3 separate regions of the Homo sapiens genome follow, and regions 1 and 2 are each linked to region 3. The links are contacts of gene promoters, found by promoter capture Hi-C in blood cells and fetal thymus (Javierre and others, 2016). All regions are on one chromosome and are shown on one strand. Each heading gives the region's core, a stretch centred on a gene start or on the middle of the fragment in contact. The rest is flanking DNA. Distances are from core to core; before and after follow the strand shown.

Evidence for each region. The method cuts DNA at HindIII sites, captures the fragments that hold promoters and counts their contacts. A CHiCAGO score of 5 or more calls a contact.
Region 1: a fragment that was not itself captured here is called in contact with the fragment with the promoter of SLAMF7 in region 3 in 1 of 17 cell types (non-activated CD4 T cells); the score reaches 5.9 in non-activated CD4 T cells.
Region 2: a contact is called between a fragment that was not itself captured here and the fragment with the promoter of SLAMF7 in region 3, in 3 of 17 cell types (total B cells, fetal thymus and activated CD4 T cells). The highest score is 7.0, in total B cells.

The regions. Positions count from the first base shown.
Region 1 is chr1:160,479,592-160,484,346 of GRCh38, reverse strand. No RefSeq gene overlaps it. Among named protein-coding and RNA genes, the nearest start is that of SLAMF6, 41 kb to the left of the region's middle. The HindIII fragment of the contact is 480 bases long and covers 1,506-1,985 here.
Region 2 is chr1:161,006,754-161,011,636 of GRCh38, reverse strand. The region is part of intron 1 of F11R (F11 receptor); the gene reads left to right. Among named protein-coding and RNA genes, the nearest start is that of F11R, 12 kb to the left of the region's middle. RefSeq lists enhancers at 4,118-4,626, 4,627-4,883. The HindIII fragment of the contact is 3,097 bases long and covers 1-2,805 here.
Region 3 is chr1:160,735,880-160,740,496 of GRCh38, reverse strand. It overlaps SLAMF7 (SLAM family member 7), which reads right to left and starts at 1,250. Exons shown (of 7, transcript NM_021181.5): 1 at 1,141-1,250. The coding sequence starts at 1,195. LOC124904440 (a long non-coding RNA gene) reads left to right here and starts at 1,338. Exons shown (of 2, transcript XR_007066687.1): 1 at 1,338-1,414. The HindIII fragment of the contact is 11,353 bases long and covers 1-4,617 here.

The DNA of each region.
Region 1 (4,755 bases), core at 496-2,995, 260 kb after region 3:
CGTGCAACATGACCTGAAGCTCAGGAAATCTCACTGGGCAGGTAAGAGAGTGCTTTCCTTTCAAGGGGACCCAAAAAAAAAAAAAAAAAAAAAAAAAAAAAAATATATATATATATATATATATATATATATATAAAGCTTTTTTTGTGTGTGTGGAAACTTTGAAGAATTCCAAGGTTCTTCAGAGAGGGAAAAGGAATAATCTGTAAAGTCAGTGCAGATAGAAAAATATTTGCAACATCTAGGGTGCCCAAAACCAGCAAGAAAATTAGGGGATATGTCATGGAAGGCACAACTAATCCATCTAGTCAGAAATCTACCAGAATCTACCCTGAATCTGGACTGCACTGGGGAGGATCACAAACAAAACAAAAACTAAGGGCGTATCTATAGACATCTAAGAGGTGAGTAAGAAAAGAACTCATAAGAAAGCTAAGCTCACTTGTCTTTATAGACCAGCTACTAAAACATAGAATTCCTGATGTTATATTTCTTTCAATCTCTTCAACCTTCTCCCTTTTTATCATAAATACCACACTCTCTTCTCTTGGCTTCTGTGACACTACATTCCCCGAGTTTTACTCCTTCCTTCCTAGCTGCTTCTCAGGCTCTTTGCAGATCCACTGCCTCCTCCACAGGACCAGTAAAGACTGAAGCTAAGGCTCACATGTGGGTCCCATTCACTTCTCCATCTAAGTACTCTTCTTATCTGATGTCAGCCATTCCTATTGCCTTAATAGCCTTTATAAGCTAATGGTTCCCAAACACATCTTTAGTCCTGACCTCCTGGCTTACCTCATTAACTGCCTACTTGGCATCACCATTTGCATATCTGGTAGATATATCAAAGTTTTTTAAAAAATAAAAACTCTTGGGCAGATGTGGTGGCTCATGCCTGTAATCCCAGCACTTTGGGAGGCCGAGGCAGGTGGCTCACTTGAAGTCAGGAGTTCGAGACCAGTCTGGCCAACATGGTGAAACCCGGTCTCTACTAAAAATACAAAAATTAGCCGGGTGTGATGTTGGGTGCCTGTAATCCCAGGTACTCAGGAGGCTGAGGCAGGAGAATCACTTGAAACCAGGAGGCGGAGGTTGCAGTGAGCCAAGATCATGCCACTGCACTCCAGCCTGGGCAACAGAGTGAGACTCTGTCAAAAAAAAAAAATCAAACCTCTTGATTTCTCTTATCAAGCCTTTTCTTCTACTATGCTTTTTCATATCAGTAAATGGTATCATTGTTATGGGACACTCTTGAACAGATCTCCTTTACAAAACTGAAAACTACCCAGTACTCACCATATAACTAATCATTTTTGTTTTCTTGTGGGAAACAAATGGATTTAATCAACAAAAACCTAATCTATTGTTCTAAAGTTAAATACATTAAGACCCAGATGCCCCATTCCTAAAAGATGAATCATGCATTTTGCAAGCAGGGAAGAAAACATGCAATGCTTATAAAATTCCTACCAAAAAACAAACTTTCTTTGCCCAGGAGGTAAGCTTGTTCTTTAATATTTTTATTGTAGAATTAAGGAAATGGTAGCCCCATTAAACTACTTTGAATAAGGTAAGATGGCTGTGATTGGCTATCCTGGAAAGGTAATAAAAGGGAATAGAAATACTCTTCCCACTCTGCCAGCCCCCAGTCATTCCCACTAGGAGGTCACAAAGTGTTGACAAGGCCTACAAGACCCCTACTCACATCTCTACTCCTTCTTTCACAGCATTCCAGCCACACTGTTCTTTATTCAGCTCCTAGAATAATCTAGACTCTCCTTCCTACTTCTGTGCCTTATGGATACTGGGACCACATCCCTATGAGGCAACAATTAGCTGGTGCTGAGTAGCCTCTGTTCTATTCTAAATGGGGCTTGCACTTCACATTTCACTCCTGGCCTGCCCTGCCTGCTTCACTCACTTAAGATACCTACCTAGTACTGAAAATAGTTAAGTTTCCAACCTCTTACCTACACCATGAAGCTTTGCCCCACATCATGTTGGTCAAAAGAGCACATTAACTAGTCCCAAAATAACAATGTCTGATCTCACTTGTCCACACCCCATCCCACCCTCAAGCCAACACCTGAACCCCGTGTAGCTTTAGGACACTTACTTGAAGCTTTCATCATTTAGCCTCCCTCAGGGTTCAGTGTATACTTTGATATGAGGAAGCAGGGCCACAGCTAGATGCAGAACAGAGAGAAGGCTACCCTGTCCAAGGTCACTGGATAGACATTTCACCCTGAGTTTCAAGTTGATGAAAAGAATGGACTAAGAAGTGACTTCTCAAATGGGGAGGGAGCAAGTCTGACCCCCTGAATTTCCCCTTCCCAGAGGCCATCTAAAAGCACTCTCTGTGGGAAGAAAGGAAGGGGACATCATCACTGACCTTTTACTACCAGACGACTAGAATGGCCACATCCAAAGCTTTTGCTTCCTCACCCCTAGCCCACTCTTCTGAAGCTGCATTCTTGAAGGATACCAACCTCTAGAGGCAGGGATCTTTTCTCTGCATTCTGGTGCTCTCTGCAGCATTTGACATTACACAATCCCCCCATCACCCTTGAGGTTTCCCTCCTTTTAATGCCCATTAAGTCACCTCATCCTACTTTTGTCTTTCTGTCTCCTCCTTACCTCTCCTTAGCTTGGTTTCTCTTATTATTTATGTCCCATAATTAGATTTGTTTCCCTAGGTTCTGCTGACTGGATATTTTCCTGGATGTCTCGTAATCACCTTAAATTCTGTTTTTCATTCTCCCTTTGACTTCTAATGACCCAAGGAAAGTAGAACATCCCTCTCAGGATCCAACAACAATCCAAAACACAAGGTGAATTCATGGCAACTTAAAACACAAGGTGAATTCATGGCAATTTAAGACACAGGAGGAAATAGAGGGGCAGCCAAGATGGCCGAATAGGAACAGCTCCAGTCTACAGCTCACAGCGTGAGCAATGCAGAAGACAGGTGATTTCTGCATTTCCAACTGAGGTACCGGGTTCATCTCACTGGGTAGTGCTGGACAGTGGGTGCAGGACAGTGGGTGCAGCGCACCGTGCATGAGCCAAAGCAGGGCGAGGCATGGCCTCACCCAGGAAGTACAAGGGGTCAGGGAATTCCCTTTCCTAGTCAAAGAAAGGGGTGACAGACGGCACCTGGAAAATCGGGTCACTCCCACCCTAATACTGCACTTTTCCAACGGGCTTAACAAACCGCACACCAGGAGATTATATCCCACACATGGTTTGGACGGTCCTACGCCCACAGAGCCTCACTCATTGCTATCACAGCAGTCTGAGATCAAACTGCAAGGTGGCAGTAAGGCTGGGGGAGGTGTGCCCACCATTGCCGAGGCTTGAGTAAGTAAACAAAGCAGCCAGGAAGCTCGAACTGGGTGGAGCCCACCACAGCTCAAAAAGGCCTGCCTGCCTCTGTAGGCTCCACCTCTGGGGGCATGGCACAGACAAACAAAAGGCAGCAGTAACCTCTGCAGACTTAAATGTCCCTGTCTGACAGCTTTGAAGAGAATAGTGGTTCTCCCAGCATGCAGCGTGTGATCTGAAAACAGGCAGACTGCCTCCTCAAGTGGGTCCCTGACCCCTGAGTAGCCTAACTGGGAGGCACTCCCCCAGTAGGGGCAGACTGACACCTCACACGGCTGGGTACTCCTCTAACACAAAACTTTCAGAGGAACAATCAAGCAGCAGCAATTGCGGTTCACCAATATCTGCTGTTCTGCAGCCACCACTGCTGATACCCAGGAAAACAGGGTCTGGAGTGGACCTCCAGCAAACTCCAACAGACCTGCAGCTGAGGGTCCTGACTGTTAGAAGGAAAACTAACAAACAGAAAGGACATCCACACCAAAAACCCATCTGTACATCACCATCATCAAAGACCAAAGGTAGATAAAACCACAAAGATGGGGAAAAAACAGAGCAGAAAAACTGGAAACTCTAAAAATCAGAGTGCCTCTCCTCATCCAAAGGAACACAGCTCCTCACCAGCAATGGAACAAAGCTGGATGGAGAATGACTTTGATGAGTGGAGAGAAGAAGGCTTCAGAAAATCAAACTCCTCCAAGCTAAAGGAGGAAGTTCGAACCAATGGCAAAGAAGTTAAAAACCTTGAAAAAAATTAGTCGAATGGCTAACTAGAATAACCAATGCAGAGAAGTCCTTAAAGGACCTGATGGAGCTGAAAACCATGGCACGAGAACTATGTAACGAATGCACAAGCCTCAGTAGCCGATGCGATCAACTGGAAGAAAGGGTGTCAGCGATGGAAGATGAAATGAATAAAATGAAGCAAGAAGAGAAGTTTAGAGAAAAAAGAATAGAAAGAAATGAACAAAGCCTCCAAGAAATATGGGACTATGTGAAAAGACCAAATCTACGTCTCATTGGTGTACCTGAAAGTGATGGGGAGAATGGAACCAAGTTGGAAAAGGCTCTGCAGGATATTATCCAGGAGAACTTCCCCAACCTAGTAAGGGAGGCTAACATTCAAATTCAGGAAATACAGAGAATGCCACAAAGATACTCCTCAAGAAAAGCAACTCCAAGACACGTAATTGTCAGATTCACCAAAGTTGAAATGAAGGAAAAAATGTTAAGGGCAGCCAAAGAGAAAGGTCGGGTTACCCACAAAGGGAAGCCCATCAGACTAACAGCTGATCTCTCGGCAGAAACTCTACAAGCCAGAGAGAGTGGAGACCAATATTCAACATTCTTAAAGAAAAGAATTACAACCCA
Region 2 (4,883 bases), core at 8-2,507, 270 kb before region 3:
GCCTCAGCCTCCCAAGTAGCTGGGATTACAGGTGCCCACCACTACGCCTGGCTAATTTTTTTGTATTTTTAGTAGAGATGGGGTTTCACCATCTTGGCCAGGCTGGTCCTGAACTCCTGACCACCTGTCTCGGCCTCTCAGTGTTGAGATTACAGGTGTGAGCCACCGCGCCTGGCCCAAAATATACTTTAAGGTCCTTTCTACATTATTCCTAAAGTATGGCTATATCATAATTTACTTATTCACCTTTTGTTGGGCATTTAGATTTCTTTTTTTTCTTTGTTATACTAAATAACATTAAATTGGCTGGGCATGGTGGTTCATGCCTGTAATCCCAGCACTTTGGGAGGCTGGGGCGGACGGATCACTTGAGGCCAGGAGTTTGAGACCAGCCTGGCCAATGTGGTGAAACCCCGTGTCTATCAAAAGTACAAAAATTAGCTGGGTATGGTGGTGTGTGCCTGTAATCCCAGCTACTGGAGAGGCTGAGGCAGGAGAATCTCTTGAACCTGGGAGGTGGAAGTTGCCATGAGCCACAATCGCGCCACTGCACTCCAGCCTGGGCGACAGAGCAAGACTCAGTTTCCAAAAAAAACGAACAATGAAACCTAAATAACGTTAAATTGTTCTTGTACATGAATTTTTTTTTTTTTTTTTTTTTTTAAGATGGAGTCCCACTCTATCGCCCAGACTGGAGTGCAGTGGCGTAATCTCAGCTCACTGCAACCTCCACCTCCCAGGTTCAAGCCTCAGCCTACCAAGTAGCTGGGATTCAGGTGCCTGCCACCACGCCCAGCTAATTTTTATATTTTTGGTACAGATGGGGTTTCACCATTTTGGTCAGGTTGGTCTCAAACTCCTGGCCTCAAGTGATCCGTCCGCCTCAGCCTCCCGAAGTGCTGGGATTACAGGCGTGAGCCACTGCACCCAGCCAAAATATTTAAACTTATCTTTGATTGCTTTCTTAGGCTATATTCCTAGAAATTGGGGTGAGATTAATTTTGACTGAGGAAAGGTATAAGAGATCAATAGACATTTGAACAGGATCTTGAAAGATACATGGGATTTCCTTGCTTGTCCAATAAAGCTACATATAGCATAATAGTTTTAGAGCCTCAAAATCAGGCAGAGTTAAGATTCCTACCTTGCTATTTGTAGCCATATGGTTTGGATCAACTGTTTTTTTTTTTTTTTTGATGGAGTCTCGCTCTGTCACCCAGGCTGGAGTGCAGTGGCTTAATCTCAGCTCAATGCAACCTCCCCCTCTCGGCTTCAAGCAATTCTCCTGCCTTAGCCTCCTGAGTCGCTGGGATTACAGGCGCCTGCCACCATGCCCAGCTAATTTTTGTATTTTTAGTAGAGACGGGGTTTCACCACGTTGGCCAGGCTAGTCTCGAACTCCTGACCTTGTGATCCGCTTGCTTCGGACTCTCAAAGTTCTGGGATTACACGTGTGAGCCACTATGCCTGGCCTGGGTCAACTGTTCTAAGCCTCAGTTTTTTCATCTGTAAAATGAAATGGTAACGGTAGTACTTCAATCTTCAATGGTACTTGTCTCATAGGTTTTTTTTTTTTTTAAGAGTTTAGTGAGAAAATGCATATAAGGCCTAACATTAATAATATGCCACTTCTACCATTATGCCATTGTCAATCATAAGACCCTCCCAGATTCATGGGGAGGAAACTTTTTTTTTGAGACAGAGTCTTGCTCTGTCATCCAGACTAAGTACAGTGGCACCATATCAGCTCACTGCAGCCTCCACCTCCTGGGCTCAAGTGGTTCTCCAGCCTCCCAAGTAGCTGGGACTACAGGTATGCACCATGCCTGGCTAATTTTTGTAATTTTTATCATGTTGGCCCGGCTGGTCTTAAACTTCTGACCTCAAGCAATCCACCCACATCGGCCTCCCAAAGTGCTGGGATTATAGGCGTGAGCCACCGCACCCGGCCCATGGGGAGGAAACTTAACTTAGACTCCACCTCAGTCACAATGTAAGTAGAGCATGGGGGAGGAGATAAATATATAGATAGATGTGGCTGTTTTGGAAAATACTATTTGCCACAGTTGTTTCATTATTATTATTCAGGTACGTAGTAATTTCCAGGAATTACATCCTCAGTGTTATAGGCGTTCATGGGCGTGCATGACTGCAGCTGATTAATTTTTTTTTTTTTTTGGTACAGATGGGGGTCTCACTGTGTTGCCCAGGCTGAGAAAACATTTATTGAATGTCAACTTGTACCAGTTTTATTATGCTAAGTGTGGGATACTCAGAATATTAAATAACACATGGTCCCTTTTCACTTGGGGTTTACCATGGGAGACATGCTTGTACACAGATGATGTCATTATAATGTGGGAATTGCTTTGACAGTGTTTTGCATGGGATAATTAAAGCCTAGGAAAGAGGCTTAGGTGAGGCTATGGTGAGGACTGGGCATGTGGGAGGTCGTTTTCCAGAAAATAATGTGGATGAATACTGCTGCCCAGATAAAGAGGGGGAAAAGGGTGTTCTACATAGCAGAAATAGCATGAGCAAAGGCAGAGATTGTGAAACAGCCCAGACTTTGCTAGGAATTTTAAGTAGTTTTGTATTGCTAGAGGGTAAATTGCAACAGTAGAGTGGGTGATGAAGATGATAACCTTATCAAGGGGTCAGATAGTGCTGGAACTTTCTTCCAGCACTTCCTGGTGGGAGAGAGGGAGGTGGGCGTTTGGCAGAGTATAGGGATTATTGGAACTTTCTTAGCTTGCAGAAAAATTTGGATTTTATCATATAAGCAATGTAGAATCATCAAAAGCTTAAAGGAGGTATCAGATTTGCATTTTTAGGAAGGCTGTATAGTATAGTGTAGCATTGTATAGCCTCTGCAGTTGGACTGCATTGGTGTGAATCTGCACTACCACTCACTGTGTGGCCTTAGCCAAGTTACTTAACTACTCTGGGCCTCAGTTTCCCCATGTAAATATGGGTGATAACGATAGAATCACCCAACTCTAAAGGCTGTTGCAGGGATTAAATGATATTACATATAATATGCTTACAACAGTGCCTCAAATATAGTATGTGCTCAATAAATGCTAGCACTTCATCCAGTAGTGGAATGGAGAATGGACTTTCTTTTTTTTTTTTGAGACGGGGTCTCGCTCTGTCACCCAGGCTGAAGTGCAGTGGTGCCATCTCAGCTTACTGCAAGCTCCACCTCCCGGGTTCACGCCATTCTACTGCTTCAGCCTCCGGAGTAGCTGGGACTAGGGACTACAGGTGCCTGCGACCACGCCCGGCTAATTTTTTGTATTTTTAGTAGAGATGGGGTTTCACCGTGTTAGCCAAGATGGTCTTGATCTCCTGATCTCGAGATCCGCCTGCCTCAGCCTCCCAAAGTGCTGGGATTACAGGCGTGAGTCACCGTGCCTGGCTGGAGAATGGACTTTCTATACATGGGCCCAAAACCTAAGCAGGCCAAAATCTATTGATGCCTTTAACTTTGTGGCTTTTCTTGTTGTGAACTTAGAGAAAATTAAACTTGACAATGGAAAGGATGGAATTTCCTTCTATTATTCGTTTACCACGTACATCAGTAGGACATTTGCATGTGTGTGTACAGTATGGTATGTATGGGCCCAAGGTTAAGTGCAAAAGGGGGGCTGTGAAGAGGCACGGGAAAATATGAAATAGATGAGGAGGATGGACAGGGAAACTGTGAGTGTCCTGATGTAGATTGGATTCAGTGAGAGCAAGTTCCTAGCTCTGCTGGTACAGCTGTGAAGGTTCTAGAGAAGGGGCCGCCTTCCCAAGGCAGCTGCAATGACAGGGGAGATATGGTTTGGTAGGCTGGAGTAGGCACTTTTCAGGCTTTATTTATATGTCTTGTTGAAGAAAACATTGAAGTCAGAAAGAAGTATGTGTACAGAAGGGCCTATGAACAGATGATGATAATCATAAAATATAATACTTATTTGGGGTTTCCTGTTCAGACACTGCTCTAAGCACTTTATTTGTACAGTATTAGCTTGTTTAGCCTTCAGAACAGCCCTTTGATGTAGAAACTGTTATTATCCCCATTTTACAGATGCGTAAACTCAGATTTGAGGAGGCCAAGTGGCTTGTCCAGGTCACATAGCCTAGTAAGTAACAGAGCTGGGATTTTTTTTTTTTTTTCTTTTCTGAGACAGAGTTTCTCCCTTGTTGGCCAGGCTGGAGTGCAATGGCACGATCTTGGCTCACTGCAACCTCTGCCTCCCAGGTTCAAGCAATTCTCCTGCCTCAGCCTCCTGAGTAGCTGGGATTACAGGCATGCACCACCACGCCTGGTTAATTTTGTATTTTTAGTAGAGACGAGGTTTCTCCATGTTGGTCAAGCTGGTCTCGAACTCCCCACCTCAGGTGATCTGCCCGCCTTGGCCTCCCAAAGTGCTGGGATTACAGGCATGAGCCACTGCGCCCAGCATTTTTTTTTTTTTTTTGAGACGGAGTTTCTTGTTGCCCAGGCTGGAGTGCAATGGCACGATCTCAGCTCACTGCAACCTCTGCTTCCCAGGTTCAAGCGATTCTCCTGCCTCAGCCTCCCAAGTAGCTGGGATTGCAGGCATGTGCCACCACACCCGGCTAATTTTTATATATATATTTTTTAGTAGAGACGGATTTTTGCCACGTTGGCCAGACTGGTCTCGAACTCCTGATCTCAGGTGATCCACCTGCTTCGCCTCCTAAAGTGCTGGGATTACAGGCATGAGCCACCGCACCCAGCCTAGAGCTGGGATTTGAACGCAGGCAGTCTGGTTCCAGGGGCCTGTTCAAGAATGAGAAGGGGAATGTGGACCAGGATGGCTGAGGTGTCCTGTGGTGAATGGGAAGGACATGGTGATAAGGCTGGCCTT
Region 3 (4,617 bases), core at 1-2,500:
GGTACACTACACAGGCTGCCTCTGGAGGAGGGCAGAGGGGGACCTGCATGGCAGTTTTTCATACTTGTGCTCTTTCGCTGACTGATTTCAGATGGACACCTGTAGCTTTCAAAGTCTCTATAATTTTCCCCAACCCCTCCACCTTATCTCCCTCAAGTTCTATTTCTGCTCATCATTTCCGTTCAGGGAGTTTTTTTTTTGTTTTTTTTTTTTAAAGTGAGGGCCTATTCCAGAACCACCTGGTTAGACCCAGGTACCTCTCAAAAATACAAACTTCTGATGAATTCAAAGTGGGTAAGAGTCTGCTGATGCTGACCACTTAGCGATGCAGGGGAAAATATTGGGGGCACCAGCTGCCTGCGTGGTCTTGGGCAGATCACTCCAGGCAGGCTCAGATACACATAATGAAGCAGTTATGTGAAGTCCTTATAGGGGGACCTCATGGTAGTACTCCATGAGATTGATGACAGAAGAGATATTTCTCACTTATAGGGCTCCTGATCCTTTCTGAGAGCCCTTAGGATAGAAAAATCTTCAAAGACTAGAATACCAGTGACAGGTGGAGAACTGTCCTCTGTCCTCCATGGGATTAAACATAAAGTGCCTATGGTATGAGTTGGTTCTCTAAGTAGAGACTGATTACATTGCTTGAGTAAGGAAAGAAAATTCAAGTGATTCTTTCCATTTATATTACTGTTATGCATAACCAATTTTATAAATACATTTATAAGTAAATAAATACATACCTGTATAGTATCATCTTGTTCTTAAAGTTGCCCTCAAAAGGAGAGAAGGCTAGAAGATAAAGTTTCTGAGGCCCAGGAAAACTTTAACATTCCTTATCTAACTCATGGCAGAACCTGGATTAGAAAAATGGTCTCTGATACCCAGCACCACTTCTTTCAGCTCCTTCATCCCTGGGACAGTCAACAGGGGAGTCAGTTCCCAGAGCCATTTTTCCCCCTCTCTCTAGTCTCTTCCTGACCTGAGAATCAGAGATCAGAGATTGATAAAAAGCAAATGTTAGATGAGAACACAGAGCCTCCCGAGTTGAGCCAGAGGCCCAGAGTGGAACAAGAAACCTGGAACTATTCAGGATGGGGTAGACAGGAGAGTGGAAGAGAATCCGGCCGGACTCACCTGTGAGCTGCCAAAGGATATAGATGAGGGTGAGGCATGTTGGGGAACCAGCCATATTGCTCTCTGGAAGTCAGCCACTGAAATGAAGCCACTTCCCTCTTAGGTATTACTCAGACCTCTTCCCCAGCTGATATTTAAAGAAGCAGGAGGGGTCACGCCGCAGACATGTGAGATTGAGTAATTGCTAAATTATTTTCAGAGTGAATAGAGCATTTTACCTTGCCACCAGCAATCTATGAGAGATCTATTTGCTCCCCATCTTCATCAGCATTTGGTATATTCCCATTTTATATTTTAGCTGTTTTAATAGGTGCTGTAGTGATACCTCATTGTGGCTTTAATTTGCATTTCCCTAAAGCCTAATAATGTTGAACATCTTTTCATGTGCTTATTTGCCATCTATATATCCATATCCTCCTTGGTGAAATGTCTATTTATGTCTTTTGTCCATTTTATAATCAGATTCTTTATTTTTTTTACTGTTGAGCTTTGACAATTCCTTATATGTTCCAAGTATAAGAGTCATTTGTCAGATATGTGGTTTACAAATATTTTCTCTTGGTCTGTAGCCTGTCTTTTCATCTTCTTAACGGGGTCTTTGGCAGAGCAAAAATTTTAATTTTGATGAAATTCAACTTATCAGTTTTTTTTCTACCCACACTAGGGTCCAAAGGTTTTCTCCTGAAAGTTTTATAGTTTTATGTTTTACATTTAAATGTATGATCCTGTTTTAATGTAAGGTGTGAAGTTTAGGTTGAGATTCACCTAAATATATTGTCTATATTCATTGAGAACCATATCAGGTAATATGGTTGACAGTTTTTTTTTGCTTTCGACACTTGAAAAGTGTCATGACACTCCTCCCCTCCATGGTTTCCAGTGAGAAATCAGCCATCATTTAAATTGTTTTCCCTATAGGTAATGTGTCATTTTTCTCTAGCTGTTTTAAAAGTTTTTTGTTTGCCTTTGGTTTTCAGAAGTATGATTACAATGTGCGTGTTTTTTTTTCTTCTGCCTGTGGGTGTTCAATTGTTCTACTACCATGTGATGGAAAAGATGATCTTTCCTACATTGAATTACTTTTGTATCTTTATCAAAAATCAGCACTTATACTTGTGTGGGTATATTCTGGAGCTATCTATTCTATTTAACTGACTTACATAATGTAATTATTTATATATCAGAGCTTAAGTTTGCCATGTTATTATTTTCTCTTTGTTCTTCTGGGCTTTTGTTTGTTTATTTTGTTCCTCTGTTTCACTTTCCTGGCCATCCTGTGTGTTACTGGAATATTTTTTATAATTCCATTTTGATTTATCTATAATGTATCTTTTTGAAGAGTTTTTTTACTGGTTGCTGTACATATTGCATTTTACATACATAACTTTTGATCTACCTATCAGTGTTGACATTTTACCAGTTGAACTAGGTATAGAAAACTTACCTATATTAGGTTTCTTTATTAGTCTATCTTTATACTTGTCTTAAATATATTGTCTATATTCATTGAGAACCATATCGGTAAGATTATAAGTTTTGCTTCAATTGTTGAACATAATTCAGAACACTCAAGAGGAGAAGGACAATCCATTACATTTACCCATATTTTAACTCTTTTCATTGTTATTTCTTTATTTCTAATGTTTCAAGTTTCCTTCTTTTTATTTTTTTTTGGACGAAGTCTTGCTCTGTCATACAGGCTGGAGTGTAGTGGCATGATCTTGGCTCACTGCAATCTCCGCCTCCTGGGTTCAAGCGATTCTCCTGCCTCAGCCTCCTGAGTAGCTGGGACTACAGGCTCATGCCACCATGCCCACCTACTTTTTGTACTTTTAGTAGAGATCAGGTTTCGCCATGTTGGCCAGGCTAGTCTCAAACTCCTGACCTCAGGTGATCCACCAACTTTGGCCTCCCAAAGTGCTGGGATTACAGGTATGAGCCACCACACCCAGCCTTCAAGTTTTCTTCTTTAATCATTTCTTTCTGTTTCAAGATATTCTTTAGGAATTCTTTTATGATAAGCCTGCTGATAACAAATTATCTTAGTTTTCCTTCACCTGAGAATGTCTTGATTTAACCCTCATTCCTGGGTATAAAATTCTAGGTTGACAGTTTTTTTTCTTTCAACACTTGAAAAGTGTCATGACACTCCTCCCCTCCATGGTTTCCAGTGAGAAATCAGCCGTCATTTAAGTTGTTTTCCCTGTAGGTAATGTGTCATTTTTCTCTAGCTGTTTTAAAAGTTTTTTGTTTGTCTTTAGTTTTCAGAAGTGTGATTATAATGTGTCTTGGTGTGAATTTCTTTGGGTTTCTCTTATTTGTGATTCATTGAGTCTCTTGAATCTGTAGGTTTTTACCTTTTGCTAAGTTTGGGGAAATTTCATTATTTTTTGAATACTTTTTTTTCAGCCTCACATTCTCGCTTCTCTCCTAAAATTCTGATGACATGAATGTTATAAATCTTTTGTTTTTCTCCCACAGGGCTCTGAGGCTCCATTTTTTTTTTTTTTTTTTTTTTTTTTTGGCCTATTTTCACTCTGTTTTCAGATTGGGTATTTTCTATTGTTTATCTTCAAGTACACTGATTCTTTCCTTTTTCATCTCCATTTTGCAATTTTTTATTTTTTTATTTTTTCTGAGACAGAGTCTCACTCTGTTGCCCAGGCTGGAGTGCACGATCTCAGCTCACTGCAACCTCTGTCTCCTGGGCTCAAGCGATTCTCCTGCCTCAGCCTCCTAAGTAGCTGGGATTACTGGCACCCGCCACCACACCTGGCTAATTTTTATATTTTGGTAGCGACAGAGTTTTGCCATGTTGGCCAGGCTGGTCTTGTACTCTTGACCTCAGGTGATCCGCCCACCTTGGCCTCCCCAAGTGCTGGGATTGCCAGTATGAGCCACTGGCCCTGGCCTCCATTTTGCTATTAAGCTCATTAAACTCATTCAATTAGTTTTACCTTTCAGTCATTGTATTATTCAATTCTAAAATTTCCCTTTGGTTCTTCTTTATATCTTCTACTCTTTTTTTAAAGACTTTCTAGTTTTTTTGTTTATTTGTTTTAAATGTGTTCATAGCTGCTAGTTGAAGCATTTTTACTATGGTTTCTTTAAAATCCTTGTAAGATAATTCTAACGTCTGTGTTGTCTTGGTTTTGGTGTCTGTTGATTGCCTTTTGTTCATTCAAGTCAAGATTGTCCTGGTTCTTGTTATGATGAGTGATTTTTGACACAGTGATGATAAGGTAGGGGACCACATTACTGCTGAGCAGTGGTAAAAATCCAGACCCTCCATTTGGCCTTTTCTGACACCACCCAAAGCAAGAATTGGGAGGAGTGCCTCATTGCTTCAGGGAGGGAGTGCATGTTCAGTCTTCCTACTTAGCCTCTTCTGATGCCACCCCAGTGGGGAGTGGGGAGTGGGGAGGGATGATTCCTTACTGCCAAGGGGTGGGGTGGGGGGTTTAAATATAGGTTTTC